6 separate regions of the Homo sapiens genome follow, and all the other regions are linked to region 1. The links are contacts of gene promoters, found by promoter capture Hi-C in blood cells and fetal thymus (Javierre and others, 2016). All regions are on one chromosome and are shown on one strand. Each heading gives the region's core, a stretch centred on a gene start or on the middle of the fragment in contact. The rest is flanking DNA. Distances are from core to core; before and after follow the strand shown.

Evidence for each region. Contacts are between HindIII fragments. The CHiCAGO score rates a contact against its expected background, and 5 or more counts as called.
Region 2: a contact is called between the fragment with the promoter of CXCR3 here and the fragment with the promoter of TAF1 in region 1, in 3 of 17 cell types (total CD8 T cells, activated CD4 T cells and M0 macrophages). The highest score is 5.6, in total CD8 T cells.
Region 3: a contact is called between a fragment that was not itself captured here and the fragment with the promoter of TAF1 in region 1, in 4 of 17 cell types (non-activated CD4 T cells, neutrophils, total B cells and 1 more). The highest score is 6.9, in non-activated CD4 T cells.
Region 4: the fragment with the promoter of GCNA here is called in contact with the fragment with the promoter of TAF1 in region 1 in 15 of 17 cell types (activated CD4 T cells, naive CD8 T cells, M2 macrophages and 12 more); the score reaches 14.7 in activated CD4 T cells.
Region 5: a fragment that was not itself captured here is called in contact with the fragment with the promoter of TAF1 in region 1 in 1 of 17 cell types (total B cells); the score reaches 5.0 in total B cells.
Region 6: a contact is called between a fragment that was not itself captured here and the fragment with the promoter of TAF1 in region 1, in 15 of 17 cell types (total B cells, naive B cells, total CD8 T cells and 12 more). The highest score is 12.2, in total B cells.

Annotation. Positions count from the first base shown.
Region 1 is chrX:71,364,743-71,367,845 of GRCh38, forward strand. It overlaps TAF1 (TATA-box binding protein associated factor 1), which reads left to right and starts at 1,615. Exons shown (of 38, transcript NM_004606.5): 1 at 1,615-1,752; 2 at 2,757-2,871. The coding sequence starts at 1,633. RefSeq lists enhancers at 379-948, 1,117-1,166, 1,657-1,706, 2,225-2,920 and a silencer at 1,307-1,496. The HindIII fragment of the contact is 14,477 bases long and covers 1-3,103 here.
Region 2 is chrX:71,617,000-71,620,102 of GRCh38, forward strand. CXCR3 (C-X-C motif chemokine receptor 3) reads right to left here and starts at 1,512. Exons shown (of 2, transcript NM_001504.2): 1 at 1,439-1,512; 2 at 1-460. The coding sequence starts at 1,450. The HindIII fragment of the contact is 3,713 bases long and covers 1-1,664 here.
Region 3 is chrX:71,135,120-71,138,222 of GRCh38, forward strand. MED12 (mediator complex subunit 12) reads left to right here. Exons shown (of 45, transcript NM_005120.3): 36 at 1-134; 37 at 1,162-1,536; 38 at 1,760-1,910; 39 at 2,068-2,264; 40 at 2,439-2,516; 41 at 2,607-2,824. Among named protein-coding and RNA genes, the nearest start is that of NLGN3, 8.2 kb to the right of the region's middle. The HindIII fragment of the contact is 4,663 bases long and covers 1-3,103 here.
Region 4 is chrX:71,577,028-71,580,130 of GRCh38, forward strand. It overlaps GCNA (germ cell nuclear acidic peptidase), which reads left to right and starts at 1,410. Exons shown (of 13, transcript NM_052957.5): 1 at 1,410-1,495. RefSeq lists an enhancer at 1,617-2,258. The HindIII fragment of the contact is 6,206 bases long and covers 1-3,103 here.
Region 5 is chrX:71,156,405-71,159,507 of GRCh38, forward strand. The region is part of intron 5 of NLGN3 (neuroligin 3); the gene reads left to right. Among named protein-coding and RNA genes, the nearest start is that of NLGN3, 13 kb to the left of the region's middle. The HindIII fragment of the contact is 2,026 bases long and covers 466-2,491 here.
Region 6 is chrX:71,548,642-71,551,744 of GRCh38, forward strand. The region is part of intron 5 of OGT (O-linked N-acetylglucosamine (GlcNAc) transferase); the gene reads left to right. Among named protein-coding and RNA genes, the nearest start is that of OGT, 17 kb to the left of the region's middle. The HindIII fragment of the contact is 817 bases long and covers 1,265-2,081 here.

The DNA of each region.
Region 1 (3,103 bases), core at 365-2,864:
TGTAGTCCCAGATACTTGGGAGGCTGAAGCAGGAGAATGGTGTGAACCCAGGAGGTGGAGCTTGCAATGAGCCGAGATAGCACCACTGCACTCCACCCTGGGCAACAGAGCGAGACTACGTCTCAAAAAAAAAAAGGAAACAAGAGAAATTCGGATCATGGAATGTTTTCAAGACAACTTGCCTGGATTCTTCCAAATATTTAGTGTCATGAAAAACAAACAAGAAGGCAGGTGATTCTGGACTAAAGGAAGATGACCAAATACAATGCATGAAACGTGAATGGATCCTAGTATTGGAAAAAAGGGAGAATGAGGAAGAGTGCTATGATGTGGTAAAGAAATTATTTCAGTCTATATTATCATAATATGTGAAAAAAGCAAGGTGAAAGCCGGGGTGTTGGCTCATGGCTGCAATCCCAGCACTTTGGGAGGCTGAAACGGGCAGATTGCTTGAGCCCAGGAGTCTGAGACCAGCCTGTGCAACATGACGAAACCCCGTAAAATGTTCCAACTAGGACAACTGGGGAAATTTAAGTGCGGACTCTTCCTTAAATAATATTGACTTACTTCCTAAAGTTGTGATAAAGGTACTTTGGTTCCATAGTTAAGATGCTTATTTTTAGGAGTGAAGAACAAGATGCCCATAAATGGTTTAGAAAAACAAAAATCCTAGCAAAATGTTAACCATTGTGAGTCTAGGTGAGGGGTCAGCTGTTCATTTTACTAAACTTTCACATTTTCCGAAATAAAACGTTGGGGGAACAAGTATTTTTTTTGAGGCGGGCTGGAGTGCAGTGGCCCGATCACAGGTCACTGCAGACTCCAACTCCTGGCTCCCACCTCAGACCCCCCAACAGCTGGGACTACAGGCACTGGCCACCACATCTGGCTAATTTTTTTGATTTTGTGTATGGATGGAGTCTCGCTTTCTTGTCCAGGCTGGCCTCATACTCGTGGGCTCAAGCGATCCTCCCACCTCGGCCTCTCAAAGTGCTGGAATTACAGGCGTAAGCCACCGCGTCCGGTCAAAAAATCAATTTCTAGGGAAAAATGTCAACTCAAAACAAGTAACCTGCATAGCTCGGGAATGCCTGTATAATTTACGTCAAGTCTCTCCTTGGGACGGACCGGTGAAATTGCACGCAGCACAAAGACCGGCTCTTACCCTTACTTCCGGGTATTGTGGTACAGGAACCCGAGGTTGCCTGCGCGTAAGCCACGTGACTCGAGCAGCTCCTTCTGATTGGAGGAAGAGCCACTGCTCTAATTCGGTGCCGTGAGAAAGCTCGCGCGCGGAGCAGTGGGAGCGGGCGGGACTGAATATTTTCTTTGACCAACCGCTTTCCACATATCCATCCTCCTGATCCCGTAGCGTCGAATCAAAAGCCGTTAGTAAAGTAGTTACTTCTTTCTCTTAGGATAGCCGGTCTTTCCGGGTTTTCCCCCCCTTCCCCCTCCCCTCTCCCCACTTCCCCCTCCCTTTCCCCTCTGTTTTGAGCTTCCGGTAGAGGCTGGTAGGGTAAGGGAGCTCAGTAAGTCACTTCTGGGCGACTGTTGTTTTATTTCCGGTCTATGGGACCCGGCTGCGATTTGCTGCTGCGGACAGCAGCTACCATCACTGCTGCCGCCATCATGTCAGACACGGACAGCGACGAAGATTCCGCTGGAGGCGGCCCATTTTCTTTAGCGGGTTTCCTTTTCGGCAACATCAATGGAGCCGGGCAGCTGGAGGGGGAAAGCGTCTTGGATGATGTGAGGGGGTGGGCGTGGGGGTAGGGCTCGGGGGGTGGGGCTAAGCAGAGGAAGGAGGTGCGGGGAGGAAAGGAGAGGGTGCTCAGGCAGCGAGAACAGGGCGCAGCTAACGCCGGGGAGGAGGATCCCGTCCTCATGGGTGCGGGAGCAACGTGGCGTGGGAGTGATCGTTCTGGGGGAGAGTGGGCAGAAGAGAGCGCGAGGCGAGCCCGGGGCCAGGGGCGCAGGGAATAGTGGCTTTGGAGCTAGCGCTCTGCCGACCAGACAGTAGGACACATGCTGGTTTCGCCTACTGAGATGGCTTCCCACCCGTAACCTGCTTGGAGATTCTTGACACTGCCTGCCCCTCTGACATCGCTGCCCTGAGATGGCTCTATAGAGCCAGAGGACTGGACAGGACCTGCCTCCCGCTCGTTTGGTTCCGGCCTCAGGCTTAGGACAATGGGGTGTTCCTAGCACCCGAGCGGGCCTCCTGGTCACAGTGCGCCTTTTAGGTGGCTCTCCCAGCGTCTTCACTGACTTTCGTGAAATAGTGTCCTGCGCCCTAGTGAAACTACCCTGCCTTCACTTAGGCCCGTTTTCTTGAGGAGTGAAGCTGTCGGCCGCTGTGGCCCCTCCTGTGCCGCAGGCGCATGCGAAACAGGGACCGAACGAGCCCCGCCTCGACGCCTCCAATCCCACTGATCCCCCTGCCTCGGCCCTCGTTCCGAGAACGACCGTTCCATTCATTCAGTCTTGGCAGTAGTTATTTGATTCGTCTTCTCTTGTAGTATACTTTAAAGTGTGGGCGATGCAGTTGGCTGTGGTGCTTTAATAAAGATCTGATCGATGCGGAGTTTGGTAGATGTATATTACAGTTCTCGAACGTGTTGCTTGTTTTGGCACACTGCACAGTCATTTTTCATGTGGATTTGTGACTTTGTCGTGGACCAGGGAAATAAGTCCTGTGGTGTGGGAGTCGTAGGTTTAGTTGTTATCTTCGACTCGTGCTGTCCCTTTTTCAGGAATGTAAGAAGCACTTGGCAGGCTTGGGGGCTTTGGGGCTGGGCAGCCTGATCACTGAACTCACGGCAAATGAAGAATTGACCGGGACTGACGGTGCCTTGGTAAATGATGAAGGTGAAGTCTGGGTTGTGGGGAGTAGGCGGGGGAGGAGGCTAGCCACCTACTATGTATGTACTTTTTTGTGTGTGTAAGACGGAGTTTCGCTCTGTCTCCGAGGTTGGAGTGCAGTGGGGCGATCTGGGCTGACTGCAGCCTCCGCCACCCGGGTTCAAGCATTTCTCCTGTCTCAGCCTCCTGAGTAGCTGGGACTACAGGCACGCACCACCACGCCCGGCTAATTTTTGTA
Region 2 (3,103 bases), core at 262-2,761, 250 kb after region 1:
GGGTGGCATGAACTATGTTCAGGTAGCGGTCAAAGCTGATGCAGGCCAGCAGGAGGGCTCCTGCGTAGAAGTTGATGTTGAAGAGGGCACCTGCCACTTTGCAGAGGCCAGAGCCAAAGACCCACTGGACGGCAGCGTCCACTGCCCAGAGCGGCAGTGTCAGCACCAGCAGCGTGTCTGCTACAGCTAGGTGGAGCAGGAAGGTGTCGGTGCTGCTCAGGGCTGTCCGCCGGCTCAGCAGCACGGCTGCCACCGCGCCGTTGCCCAGCAGCCCCAGCAGAAAGAGGAGGCTGTAGAGGGCTGGCAGGAAGGCCCGGTCGAAGTTCAGGCTGAAGTCCTGTGGGCAGGGCGGGGAGGTACAGCACGAGTCACTCTCGTTTTCTCCATAGTCATAGGAAGAGCTGAAGTTCTCCAGGAGGGCGGCAACCTCGGCGTCATTTAGCACTTGGTGGTCACTCACCTGTGAGGGCGGGAACGGGGAGGAAGGGGCTGTGTAAAGGCCTGGCAGGAACTCTTTTGTGATTGAGTCTGATTTAGTCTGTGATTTACTCTGAGCAGCTCCTCCTATAACTGTCCCCGCCAGTCTTCCAGGGCCGTACTTCCTCAACTCCATCCGCTCAGCCTGGGCTCTGGGATAGTGACTTCCCTTCTCAAAGGCTGCTTCTCTCGCATTCTTCTGCGTGATCCCATCGGCCCAGGGACCCCTGGGCAGGAAGAAGAGCGTCCCTCCAGTGCCCAGAGCCCTCTCTGCCCACTGTCCTCTCTCTCCCTGCTCTCCCTTCAGGCTTGCCTTGCGTCCTCAGTGCCCCACCCCCAACACATAGTTCAACCACCTTCCTCCCCAGCGCCTCTCCACAATCCCCTTTTCCAGTCACTAACCCTCCTCTTCCCTCCTTGGCCCTTGTCCGGGGACCCCAACTTCCTGCGCCCCCCCCCACCGTGTGGCCTCTCTACAAGTCACCACGCCCCCCAAATGCATGCAGTCTGCCCAGTCCTTCCCCCTCCCTACACTGAGGCTTGCACGGCCATTTAGCTGCCCACAAGGGGATCCCCCACTTAGCTTGAGAAGGAATCTTCTTTATCCCCTCACCCCCAGCACTATGGACCTGCAGGTCTCCCCAGTACCAATTTAGTCCAGCACGCCAAGAGTCAAAGTTCCAAGTCTCCTGAAGGGAGCCTTCGAGTCTACTTGCCCCCCGCCCCCCCCATTTTGCAGACGAGACACCGAAGCCAGAGAGGAGAGGAGAGGCACCCAGGGTCAGTGGCCAAGCTGGGTTCCCAATTCCCCAGTGCTGTTTCTGCCACAACCCATGCGGCCTCCAGCTACTCACCCAACCCTGTGGTGACCCTGGGCTGTGGGCCAGCCCTGGCATTCCCCTGATGCCCCGGGTTTTCCACTTCGAATTCTGGCCTGGCCTGGCTGGGCAGCAGCACTTACCTCAAGGACCATGGCTGGGCTGGTGCTCTGGCTGCTGGGTGGTGTGCTGCCTGCCCCTCTGCTTTGGTGCTTGTGGTTGGAAACCTGCAGTCACAGAGGAAGTGGGAGTTTCAGGCAGTTCTCAGCAGCAGCCTCTTCCAGGGAGTTACCTCTACCAGACCTCCCTAAACCTCAGGCCACAGAGTTTCCGTGACTGGGTGAAACCTCTCTGGAGGAGCTGGCTACAAGCTTGGGACCAGAAAAGCTGGGCAGAGGATGACTGGCTGGGGGCAGGTCCTTTGAGAAGAGAGGTCTGAAGAGGAAGCAATGCAGCTGAGAAGTGAAGGGCAACCCTACTGCCTGCACTGGTAGGGTCAGTGCTCCATAGATTGGAACTCATCTGTCCTGGCCTTGAGTTGATCTTTGCATGATTGTAAAGGCTGGGTAGAGAAATAAGTCTGCAGAGGAGATCCACCTTCTTAAAAATTTCAGCTAGGTGCAGTGGCTCATTCCTGTAATCCCAGCTACTGGGGAGGCTGAGGCAAGAGGATCACTTAAGGCCAAGAGTTTGAGACCAGCCTGGGCAGCATAGCGAGGCTCCATCTCTACCAAAAATAAAAAAAGCCAGCCGGGCATGGTGGCATGTGCCTGTAGTCCTAACTACTTGGAAGCCTGAGACAGGAGGATTGCTTGAGCCCGGGAGTTCAAGTCTGCCTTGAGATATAATTGTACCACTGCACTCCAGCCTGGTGACAGAGTGAGGCCCTGTCTCTTAAAAAGGGAATTAAAATATTTTTTTAAAAAGCCGTTACACTAAATCTAGCTTTTTACCACCACCTCTCCCTGCTAATCAGTGGGGAAAAAGAAAGGGAACTACCAGTAATGAACTTGCTATGTGATAGACATTGCTTTAGGTGCTTTCTCCGACACTGCCTTATTTCAACCACACAACTCACTTGTGACGTGCGGGGTTATCTGCATGGATGATTCAGAAAGGGGACAGGCCTTCGCCAGACACGGCAATTAAAGGTGGGCGTGAGGATTGATCCCACGGCTGTCTGATTCTCCTTTTCCTACTCATGAACACTGTCTTCAGTTTCTTTTAAGTGAATAAGCTATGATATATTCATGCAGTTAAAAACAAATGAACTAAAGCTACACATTTGAACATGGATGCATCTAGAAAAGCCAACGATCACATGGTAGAAGAAGCAAGTTACAGAATGCCATGTATAGTTTGATGCCACTTACATAAACTCTAAAAACCACCACAAAATCAATACCATGTTGTTTTGGATAACACTGTTGGTTCTCGAGGTTTAAAACAGGGACAGGAGATACCACAAATTCATAAAAGCAGTTGCTTCTCGGGCAAGAAGGAGGATGGGGTTGGGGAGGAGGCCATAGGAACTTCTTGATCTTAAGGAAAAGCTGTAAGGCAGCCTTGGTACAGCACATCAGTCACTTTATGGCAGAGAATGGTGAACAATTCCTCTCCCCACCTGCCCTCAGCTCTCCCCTTTGCCCTCTTCTCCCCTCCCTGTCGCCCTCTTCTCATTACCAGTGGGCAAGGCTGCCCGTAATTTGCTTCTCCCAAGCAGTTTCCTCTTTCTCTCTCTCCCCTAGTTGGAAAGCAGGGGTGGAGGGAGAGAGAGAAAGAAGAGAGAAGAGAGAAGAGAGAGAGAG
Region 3 (3,103 bases), core at 255-2,754, 230 kb before region 1:
GTCTGGAAAAGGTTCGCCAGCTGCTGCCACTGCCCAAGCAGACCCGAGATGTCATCACGTGTGAGCCACAGGGCTCCCTTATCGATACCAAGGGCAACAAGATTGCTGGCTTCGATTCCATCTTCAAGAAGGAGGCATGTTCCATTGTCTGCCCGTGTCCCTTGCCTTTTTTCCCCTTTGGGCAAGAACTTTGCCTGCATCAGCTTTGTAGCTCCAACAGACTCATCAGATTCAGGAGCCCATCAGTCTCTGCCGGTGAACACCATCTCTGGGGTTTTGAGCAAATCACTTAACTTTCCTTACATTTCATCTCCATCTTTGAAGTCCCACCCTCTTTCCTTCACCCTGCCCTCACCTTTTAACATACCACCCATTTTTCAATACCCTACCCTCCTCTTTCCTCTGCTCCACCTGCCCCATGTCCTACCCCACCCATCTATCTGGCCGACAGCCTGTATCTCTTTTATTTCTGTGTTTCCCTACACCCACCCATCTCTGCACACTTTTATCTTTTCCCTCTCTGTCAGTTGCGGTATTTGTTGAGTAACCATAATTATTGTGTATAGTTTAAAACCCAAAGTCTAACTCCTTCATATATACATTCTCTTCATCTGTCTTCCTAGTCCATCTGTCTCTTTTCCTCCGTCTCTGTCTCTCTCCCTGTCTGACTCGTTTGCCTTTCTTTGTCTCTCCACCTTTTTGTCTCTCTCTTCCTGTTTCTTTCTCTCTCTGACTCTTTCTCGGCCTGCCTAAAGGCAGAGTCTCTCCCTGCCTTCCTCTCTCTCTTTCTCTGCCTTCCTTTTTCTGTCTTCCTCTGAATGTCAATCCCTCTCCCTCCCCGCTCCCTCTCTGGCTTTCTCCCCAACCCCTTTCTCTCCCGATCTTCTCTCCCCACACGCCCCCCGCCCCGTTAGTTCATCTCCTCTCCTGGTCTGGGCTGGCTTCATCTTGTGCCTCCACACCTCTCCCTGTGCCCCACCCTTCACTCTCTCCCCGCATAACTCTCTTCCGCATGTATATGTGTATCCATGTCTGTCTGTCTGCTTCTTACCATCTCTCCTGAATCTGCCTATGACTTTCTTTCTACCCATTCCTACAAATGCTTGCAGTCTTCTGTTTTCTAAGTCCCAACAGCTTATTGTTTTTCATTTTCTGGAGCAGGGTCTACAGGTTTCCACCAAACAGAAGATCTCGCCCTGGGATCTTTTTGAGGGGTTGAAGCCGTCAGCACCACTCTCTTGGGGCTGGTTTGGAACAGTCCGAGTGGACCGGCGAGTGGCTCGAGGAGAGGAGCAGCAGCGGTTGCTGCTCTACCACACACACCTGAGGCCCCGGCCCCGCGCCTATTACCTGGAGCCACTGCCACTGCCCCCAGAAGATGAGGAGCCGCCTGCTCCTACCCTGCTAGAGCCTGAGAAAAAGGCTCCAGAGCCCCCCAAAACTGACAAACCGGGGGCTGCTCCACCCAGTACTGAGGAACGCAAGAAGAAGTCCACCAAGGGCAAGAAACGCAGCCAGCCAGCTACCAAGACAGAGGTGAGCGCCTCCCCCGTGACAGTTCTCCCACAGCCTCTCACTTCATGACGCTCCGGTTTCTGGTTTGTGGGAGGGGTGGGGGCGCATAAGGAAGGGGTGCCATTAGAATCATAATAAAAATTAACCATATACGAATTCAGCTCCTCTTTACCTCATTCTCCCCCAGCTCCCCGACCCCATTCAGCTACAACCCACTCACCCTCTTCCTCTGCCACTCACACAGGACTATGGAATGGGCCCGGGTCGGAGCGGCCCTTATGGTGTGACAGTGCCTCCGGACCTCCTGCACCACCCAAACCCTGGTTCTATAACACACCTTAACTACAGGCAAGGCTCCATAGGCCTGTACACCCAGAACCAGCCACTACCTGCAGGTGAGTGCCAGCCACTAGGAATGCTGGAGGGACCTACCTGTACACTCCCCCTGCCCAAAGGATGATGCCATTCCCCTGAGGAGCTATGGATGTCAAGGACACTGAGCAAGAGACAGAGGGATGAGGAGCCTAGAGGTCAGCCCACTCTCCTTTTCAGGTGGCCCTCGTGTGGACCCATACCGTCCTGTGCGCTTACCAATGCAGAAGCTGCCCACCCGACCAACTTACCCTGGAGTGCTGCCCACAACCATGACTGGCGTCATGGGTTTAGAACCCTCCTCTTATAAGACCTCTGTGTACCGGCAGCAGCAACCTGCGGTGCCCCAAGGACAGCGCCTTCGCCAACAGCTCCAGGCAAAGATAGTGAGAGGGGCAGTAGGGAGGGCTGTCAGGGAGAGGGGCTTTTGAGGGTCACAGGACGGAGGAGACACTTGGGATCTTCACAAGGACACTCAGGGTGGGAGACACAAGAGATGAGATGGCAGCAAGCATTTCCTGAGTTTGAGTTGTTCTCTTTTCTCCCTTTAGCAGAGTCAGGGCATGTTGGGACAGTCATCTGTCCATCAGATGACTCCCAGCTCTTCCTACGGTTTGCAGACTTCCCAGGTAAGAGCCTGGGATTGTGAGACTAGGGGGATGAGGCAAGCTGCTCTGCATACTCTCGGCCCTGATTCCCTCTCTCCTTCTTCCCTCCAGGGCTATACTCCTTATGTTTCTCATGTGGGATTGCAGCAACACACAGGCCCTGCAGGTACCATGGTGCCCCCCAGCTACTCCAGCCAGCCTTACCAGAGCACCCACCCTTCTACCAATCCTACTCTTGTAGATCCTACCCGCCACCTGCAACAGCGGCCCAGTGGCTATGTGCACCAGCAGGCCCCCACCTATGGACATGGACTGACCTCCACTCAAAGGTACCCAAAGTAGTGGTGAGCTAGGAAGAGATGCAGAGGTATAAGGGAGCATTTGACTTGGGAAAGCCTGTGCCTGAAAGTGGTGGGACTGGTCAGAACTTTCGGAGACATCAAGAATACTTATCTGGCCACATAGCCCATAACCACAGAAGTCTCGAGCTGGAAGGGACCCTGGAGACCAATAGTTTCATGACTACTTCCTTAACAGTTCTTTGAGGCCCAGAGAGGGGAAATTGTTTATCTGACTCAAGGAAAAATCTGGGCTGGGTGTGGTAGCTC
Region 4 (3,103 bases), core at 160-2,659, 210 kb after region 1:
AAGAGGCTTGTAGAGGTTAATTTGCAACTTCATTGTAGAGAGAGAGAGTAATCAGCCCCCTTTATCCAATTTTTTTATCAACTGAGAAAGTATCTGTATTTAGGTAGGCAATCTGGTGCTTAAGAGCAGGTTTTGGAACTAGAGTTGGAGTTTGAATCTCAGCTCTGCCACTTTTTTTTTTTTTTTTGAGATGGAGTCTCGCCCTGTCCCCATGCTGGAGTGCAATGGCACGATCTCGGCTCACTGCAACCTCCGCCTCCCAGGTTCCAGCGATTCTCCTGCCTCAGCCTCCCGAGTAGCTGGGATTACAGGCGCGGGCCACCACACGCGGCTATTTTTTTTTTTTTATCTTTAGTAGAGACGGGGTTTCACCATGTTGACCAGGCTGGTCTCAAGCTCCTGACTTCGTGATCCACCCGCCTCAGCCTCCCAAAGTGCTGGGGTTACAGGCGTGAGCCACTGTGCCCGGCCAGCTCTGCCACTTTCTAGCTGTGTGATCTCTAAAATGAGAGTGCTAACAGTTGCCTACTTTTTAAAGTGTTGTATGAATTAAGTCGTAAGACACTTGGAATAATGCTTAGCACAAAATAGTATCAAACGCAGGGACATTTTATGTGTGTTCTGTTACCCAAAGGCATACATTACGAAATATATAGATGCTCGCTGGAGAAACTGGCACAATCTAGAAAGCGCTGTTTTCCCCGTTTGTTTTTCTTGGTGTGTATGGAGTGAGTGCCAAAAAGCCTCAAGTAACCTTTTTTTATCTCCAGGGTTTGGAGGGTTCTGGAAGTAAACATCATAGTTCGCCGTTGCCAGGCGCTGTTGAGTTGCTGCCTTGCTCTTATCTAGGGGTCTAGATGGCCTTCCCTGCAACCCCCGCCCCCCTGCGCTCCCGCGTCCCCCCGCGCCCCGCCCTCCCCTCGGTGTTCCCGTCCACGCCCCTGCTCCCGCGCCTTCGCTCCAGTTCTCGTGCCCCCGCCCCTCCCCCCGCGCCCTTTCCCAGTGGTTGCAATAACGGACTTAGAGGTCTGGACAATTCAAGTAAGGAACAAGGCTCGCTTATCCAAGTTCTCGCAGGATAAAAGTTTGTTATGAACGATTTCACATGGTTTCTCTTTATCAGAAAGTTGTTAGGGACTTTTAATCGCAGAATTGGCCTCGGGTGCCCACGCTCTAGTATTGAAATGGCGGTTTTGGGACAAATAAGCAACATCCGTGGGAGTGGAAAGCGACAGACCTGATCCCGGAAGCGTTACAGCTAGGCGCCAAGTTCACAGGCGCGAAGTTCAAATTTGTCTTGTGACCACTGTGATAGGTGGGTACAGGGGAGCGCGGGCGAGCACACGTGAATTACTGCTACCGCCCCCTAGGTCCGGGCACTATAAAGGGGCCTGCGCCTGGCGTTGTTCATCGCAGTTGCTCCGGATCTTTGCACACACTCCACGGGCAGTTGGAGGTGAGCTGCTGCCGGCCACGCCAGAGGCTGCAACACCAGGTAGGTGACCGGCTGGTCGGACTGAGATGGGTGCTGAAGTGGTCCAGAGGTTAATCCTAATTGAGTGACTTAATTAAAATCAGGACCACTGTATACCTTGGACTCTGGTTGCCCGTGTAGGCCTGAGGTGGGAGTAGAGGAAGTGGCAGCGAGGGGAGAAGTGGAGGCGCCAGTGGTAGCATTGGGGGAGGTGGGGGCGCCCATGGTGGTGTAGGAAACATATGGTGGCGCCAGTGGCGGCATTGGGAGGGGTGGGGGCGCCGGTGGCGGCGTAGGAGCAGCTGGTAGTGCCAGTGGCGGCGTGGGGAGAAGGGGCGCTGGTGGCGTCATTGCAGATAGTGGGGGGCCTGGTGGTGGCGTAGAAGGAGGTGTTGGTGCCAGTGGCGGGTGGAGAGAAGTAGGGGCACCAGTGGCGGCGTTGGGGGAAGTGGGGGTGCCTGTGGCAGTGTCGGGGAAGTGGGGGTGCTGGTGGTGGTGTAGGAGCATGTGGTAGCACCAGTGACGGTGTGGGGAGAAGTAGGGGCACCATTGGCGGCCTTGGGGGAAGTGGGAGCGCTGGTGGTGGCGTAGGAGCGTGTGGTGGCGCCAGTGGCTATGTAGGAATACGTGGCGCCGGTGGCGGCGCGGGGAGAAGTGAGGGCGCTGGTTGCGGCACTGGGGGGAGGTGGGGGCCCCAGTGGTGGTGTAGGAACAGGTGGTGTCCCTAGTGGCGGGTGGGGAGAAGTAGGGATGCCAGTGGCAGCGTGGGGGGAGGTGGGGGTGCCAGTTGCGGCCTAGGAGTACTTGGTGGCGTTGGTGGCATAGGAGCACATAGTAGCGCTGGCGGTGTGGGGAGAAGTGGAGGCGCCGGTGGCCGCATTGAAGGTGGGGGTGCCAATGGGGGCGTTGAGGGAAGTGGGGGGTTCTGGTGGCGGCGTAGGAACACTTGGTGGTGGTGGAAGTGGCCTAGGAGCACGTGGTGGTGCTGGTGGGCGTGGGGAGAAGTGAGGATGCTGGTGGTGGCATTGGAGGTGGGGGTGCCAGTGGCTGTGGGGAGAAGTGGGGGTGCCCGTTGCAGCATTGGGGGGAGGTGGGAGCTAGTGGTTGTGGGTAGGGGTGTGTGTGTGGGGGTTGAGGTCTCTTTGGCTGAGGACTGAGTGGTGGTGGGAGACAGGAGTGGGGTAGGGCAGAAGTTGGATAGAAGTGTGGGGGAGTGGAAGCCTGCTTGGAAAACCGGTTGGGAGCAGTTGAAGGTGGCTGGAGGTGGTTGGAGGTGCGAGTGTGGGGGAAGGGTGGTGGGGTTGAGGCCTGATTGGTGGAAGACTGAGGTGAGAATGGTGGGGGTAGGGTCCAGACCTGATAGGAGGAAGGAGTTGGGGAGGGGTCAAGGCCTGTTTGGTCGAAGATTGGCTAGAGGCTGGAGGCAGGAATAGGAAGCGTGGAGGGGGTGGCCGGATTCATATAAGACCAGTGAGAAGCCAGAGTGGCGGGAGGTAAGGGGGCAGTGGAGGTTGGACAGAAGGAAGAAGGTGATGAGGGGGCGGTGGTAGCCTATTCTGGGTAAGATTGACAGAGTGGGGAGTAAAGAGGTAGGGGAAGGGGGAGAGGTTGACACCCGGTAGGTGGGAG
Region 5 (3,103 bases), core at 229-2,728, 210 kb before region 1:
ACAGATACTACACACACACCATATCCACATCTATATACATCCCACACACTGCCCTTATGTCATTCCCCTACACATACATTCCCCCACACACACATCCACATATGCATGCACGCGTATACATGCGCACACTCTTCCATATACAGCCTGTATATGTACACCCAGCACACACCCATGCACTTCTCCCCTCACCCCACCCCACAAATATATACACATCCGTGTACATGGGGCTGCATCTGTATCCATACATGCACACACACCTCTACCCAGGCCCAACCGCATCCCCCAAGTCTCCCCACACTTCCTTACCCCGTATATGCACACGTACACACTCTTTGTACTCTAAGCATGTCCCCTGCACACTCCCACCCATCACACACATACTCCCATGCATATGCACTCATTGCCGAAATGCCTCCTCATATGCACCCATACACCTCCCCACCCCCGCATTCTCTGCTGTGCACAAGCTTGTGTCAGTCATTTAGGCTGCCCTTGAACCCTGTACCTTCCTTGGTGACCACCCATGCCTATCTATGGCCAAGGTCTTGAGGTAAACGAGTGCCTCAGAGAGGGTGACTAAGCACACAGGGCCCTGCTCATGCTCCCCCAAGCCCCGCATCCCTGTAGTGGCATGAAGAAGCCAACTTCTTCCTGGAGGAAGAGTTTCAGCGGGAGTGTAGGCTCTTGGTCAGGTCTGTAGGCATATGGGTGCTAAACCAGCAGTTAGGCGTGGCTTATTCCATGGCTAACTAGGGGACACGACCATATTTGATTTTATTTTCATTTAATTTTTGAGACAGGGTCTCACTCTTGCCCAGGCCAGTTTTGAACTCCTGAGCTCAAGTGATCATCCTCCCACCTCAAGGGCCTTATTTTAATTTGCTTATTTATTTATTTATTTATTTATTTATTTATTTATTATTTTTATTTTGTTTTTGAGGCAGAGTCTCACTCTGTCGCCCAGGCTGGAGTGCAATGGCACCATCTTGGCTCACTGCAACCTCCGCCTCCCGGGTTCAACTGATTCTCCTGCCTCAGCCTCCTGAGTAGCTGGGATTACAGGCACCTGCTACCATGCCAGGCTAATTTTTGTATTTTTAGTAGAGACAGGGTTTCACCATGTTGGCCAGGCTGGTCTCGAACTCCTGACCTTAGGTGATCTGCCTGCCTCAGCCTCCCAAAGTGCTGGGATTACAGGCATGAGCCACCACGCCTGGCCCTTAATTTTCTCTTGACTATATTGCTTTGTCAGTTCCAATCTCAGAGGCTCCGGGGCTGCATTTCACTTCTGGGTGCAGTTGTATGCCCAGAACGGCAATCTTCTCTTGGTTTACAATTAATACTATGTGAGATAGGAAGATACTCTTTTGGGGTTCAAACTGCAGAAATGATGCTCCTTTAAAAAAGCAAAGTCGGTGTCCCCTTCATTGGCGCCCGGGAGACTGAATATGGAGCATGCAGGCCATTCACGCTGGCCTCCCCACGGTCTGGTAGGCTTGGGATGTTGGGATGTCATGGTTCTGCTCCTGCCCCTCTGTCTTTCTGCATCACCTCAGACACCATGGTGAGGCTCTTGTAAGCTGTTCTGTCCTGTTGAATCTCATGGTACCATGAAGGTGGCTGGAAACCCACACACTAGGGCTGCACACTTTCTTTTTTTAATTAATTAATTAATTAATTAATTAATTTTTGAGACAGAGTCTCACTCTGTCACCCAGGCTGGAGTGCAGTGGTGCAATCATGGCTCATCGCAGCCTCGACCTCCCAGGCTCAAGTGATCCTCCCACCTCAGCCTCCCGAGCAGCTGGGATTATGGATTACAGGTGTGCACCACCACACCCAGCTAATTTTTGTATTTTTAGTAGAGACAAGGTCTCACTATGTTGGCCAGGCTGGTCTGGAACTCCTGATCTCAAGTGATCCACTTGCCTTGGCCTCCCAAAGTGCTGGGATTACAGGCGTGAGCCACCGCGCCCGGCTGGGCTGCACAGTTTCTAGAGAGGAATGAACGCGCAAATGTGATCACAAACAGATATGCAGACACATGTACACGGTAGTTCAAAGCCAAAAGTAATTTTGCTACTTTCTTTTCTTAGAGTGACAGAAAACACTCAGCTCAGCTGCTTAAAAAAATATAAACACAATGCTCCATTCTATAAGGTTTATTGGAAAATACAAAGAATACTAAAAATATGCTTCAGAGCAGCTAGGAATGAAGAAAGAGAGCATGGAAAAGAGGGAGAGAAAGAGGAGAAAGCAAGGAAGAGAAGAAAATGAGAGGATAATAGAGAGTCAGGGAGAGGAAGCAGAGAGGAGACAGAAGGAGAGACTTAGGATCTGGGGAGAGACTCGGCATTTCACGTAGGATGTGAAGTCTCCACAGTGTCAGTTGGGAACTGTGGGCCGCACAGAAGGCTGTCGCTGGTGAGCATTCCGTATGATATCCTGATTTGCTGATTACTTCACAATCCTTCAGCTGCTCTAATCCTTAAGCTTCTACACCAGAAGTTCTTAACCTTTTGGGGCATCTTGGACCCTTTTGAGATTCTGATGAAAGCTATGGACTCTCCCCTGGAACAATGCACACATGCGTGTGTGCACACACATGCATGTGCGCACACACACACTTAATTTTACAGGGCCGGGTGTGGTGGCTCACGCCTGTAATCCCAGCACTTTGGAAGGATGAGGTGGGTGGATCACCTGAGGTCAGGAGTTCAAGACCAGCCTGGGCAACTAAACCCTGTCTCTACTAAAAATACAAAAGTGAGCTGGGCATGGTGGCATGCGCCCGTAGTCCCAGCTACTCAAGAGGCTGAGGCAGGAGAATTGCTTGAACCTGGGAGGCGGAAGTTGCAATGAGCCAAGATCGTGCCACTGCACTCTAGCCTGGGCAACAGAGTGAGACTCCATCTCAAAAAAAAAAGAAAAGGAAAAAGAAAAAGAAAAGAAAAGAAAGAAAGAAAAAACAATTTTACAGATCCCCCTTAAGTTCATCCATGAAAGTCAGGTTAAGAACTCGCACTTGACAGCCCCGTCATTTGGATAACCAGAACAGCACATCTAGGGGGCAGGAACATTCTTCTTTGGGCTTAAGCAGTTG
Region 6 (3,103 bases), core at 423-2,922, 180 kb after region 1:
TAAGTGAATTAATGCAGGAACAGAAAACCAAATATTGCATGTTCTCACAAGTGGGAGCTAAGCATTGGGTACACATGGACACAAAGGGGAACAATAGACAGTGGGGCTTACTTGAGGGTGGAGGGTGGGAGGAGTGTGAGGGTACAAAAACTACTTACCAGGTACTATGTTCACTACCTGAGTGACAAAATCATTTGTATACCAAATTGCTGTGACACAATTTACCCATTTAACAAACCTGCATGTGTACCCCAAACCTAAAATAAATGTTGGAATTAAAATAAAACTCATATTAAAGTTTTAAAAAAGGGCTTTGTATTAGGTAATTTTACCTAAACGTAGGCTAATGTGTTCTGAGCATGTTTAAAATGAGACTAGCCGGGCCAGGTGTGATAGCTCACATCTGTGATCCCAGTGCTTTGGGAGGCCGAGGCGGGCAGATTGCTTGAGCTTAGGAGTTGAAAACCAGCCTGGACAACATAACGAGACCCTGTCTCTACAAAAATGAGCTGGGTGTGGCAGTGTGCTCCTGTAGTCCCAGCCATTTGTAGGGCTGAGGTGGGAGGATTGCTTGGGCCTGGGAGCTGGAGGTTGCAGTGAACCAAGATTGCACCACTGCACTCCAGCCTGGGTGACAAAGTGAGGCCCTGTCTCAAAAAAAAAAAAAAAAAAAAAAAAAAAATTAGGCTAAGCTAGGATGTTCACTAAGTGTTACAGATGCATTTTGACTTAAGATATTTTCAACTTATGATGGGTGTATCGGGACATAACCCCATCCTAAGTTGAGAAACATCTTTATTGCAGCATTTGCTGGATAGTACATGGTATGGCAGTTTCCAATTTTGTGTTGAAAATGTACTTTAGGCTGCGTGCTGTGGCTCACACCTGTAATCCAGCACTTTGCGAGGCTGAGGTGGGAGGATTGCTTGAGCCTAGTAGTTTGAGACCAGCCTGGGCAACATAGTAAGACCCTGTCTCTACAAAAAATACAAAAAGTAGCTATGCGTGGTGACACACACACAGCTACTGGGGAGGCTGAGATGGGAGTTTGAGTCTGCAGTGAGCTGTGATCATGCAACTGCACTCCAGCCTGGGTGATGGTGTGAGACCCTGTCTCAAAAAAAATGTACTTTAGTAATTAAAAATGATTTTTATAAATGGGCTTTAAAGAAGCAGGGCTTCTTGGTGAAAAGGCAGATTCCAGGTCTGGGGCAGGAATTTAAAAAAAATTTTTGGAATGTCTTGTCATACCAGAAAGCAAGGAAGCTTTGACATATTACTTTGCATCAAAAGGACTCAGGAAGCAACTTGAGGAGGCTCCCACTGGCTAAAGATGCAGACTTGAGCATCAATAGGAATAATAACTGAAATATACTAAAACTTATCAAGTATGTTTAAATCTATGAGCTTATAATTATGCTAAAAAATTCATTGGTCATCTTTGGAAGACTTACAAGGAACAATTAATTTGGAAAACTGGTTAAAAAGAGAAGAATAAAGTTTTTGAGGAACCTCTATACTAGTTCCCAAAATGGCTGTGCCAATTTATACTTCCCCCATCAGTTACAAGGCTTCCCTTTCTTTACATCCTCACTAACACTTGTTATTATTCGTCCTTTTGATGATAGCTATACTAACAAGTGTGAGATGCTAACTCATGGTTTTATTTTGCATTTCCTTGATGATTAGTGATGTTGAGCATATTTTTTATATATCTGCTTGCCATTTGTTTTTTTTGTTTTGTTTTGTTTTGTTTTTTTGAGATGAGGTCCTGCTCTGTTGCCCAGGCTGGAGTGCAGTGGCGCCATAATAGCTCACTGCAACCTCGAACTCCTGGGCTCAAGTGATCCTCCCACCTTGGTCTCCCCAAGTGATAGGATTACAGACATGAGCCACTGTGTCTGGCCTGTACCTCTTCTTTTGAGAAATGTCTGTTTAGATCCTTTGCCCGTATTTTAATGGGCGTATTTGCTACTGAGTTGAGCTTCTTAACCCTTTATCAGTTGTATAGTTTGCAAATGCTTTCTCCTAATCCGGGGTTGCCTATTCACTCTGTGTAATTGTTTCCTTTACTGTGCAGAAGCTTTTTAGTTTGATGCAATCTCATTGCATATTTTTGCTTTTGTTATCTGTGCTTTATGCTAAGTGAAATAAACCAGGCACAGAAAGTAGATACTGTATTATGTCACCTATTTGTGGAATCTAAAAAAGTTGATTTCATAGAAACAGAGAGTAGAAGGGTGGTGAGGCTTGGGGGGGTGGAGGAGGGATGGGGAAAAGGGAGATATTGATCAAAGTTTCAGTTAGACTGGAGGAATAAGTTTTAGTGATCTGTAGTACTGCATGGTGACCACAGTTGTTAATAATGTATATTTCAAAATTGCAAAAAGAATAGGTTTTTAATGTCCTCAACCACAAAAAAATAAGTTAGTGAGGTGATGGCTATGTTAATTAGCTTGGTTGACTCTTTCTAAAATGTATACGTGGATCAAACCATCACATTGTATGCCATAAATATACACAATTATATATCAACTTTAAATTTAAAAATTAAAAGAATAAAGCATATGTCTTCCCTCTCCTGTATGAACTAGACCATAGAGTAACCCAATAGTTGATGGGGGAAGCTTTTCTTTATAAAAGCATTCTAGCTAATAAGTGAAGAAGGAATGATAGAATATCACCATTAATAGTGAAAGCATTTATTAGGCCGGGCTTGGTGGCTCACGCCTGTAATCCCAGCACTTCGGGAGGCCATGGCAGGTGGATCACCTGAGGTCAGGAGTTCGAGACCAGCCTGGCCAACATGGCAAAACCCCATCTCTACTAAAAATACAAAAATTAGCCAGGCATGGTAGCAGGAGCCTGTAATCCCAGCTACTCAGGAGGCGGAGGCAGGAGAATCTCTTGAACCTGGGAGGTGGAGGTTGCAGTGAGCTGAGATTGCACCATTGCATTCCAGCCTGGGCGACAGAGCAAGACTCCATCTCAAAAAATAAAAAAAAAGTTAAAGCATTTATCAGTGACAAAAACGAGATACAATCAGGTATTAAGTACCTTGTGGTAAACAATTTCACCAGTGAAGTAGTCTTGCACAAAGAGA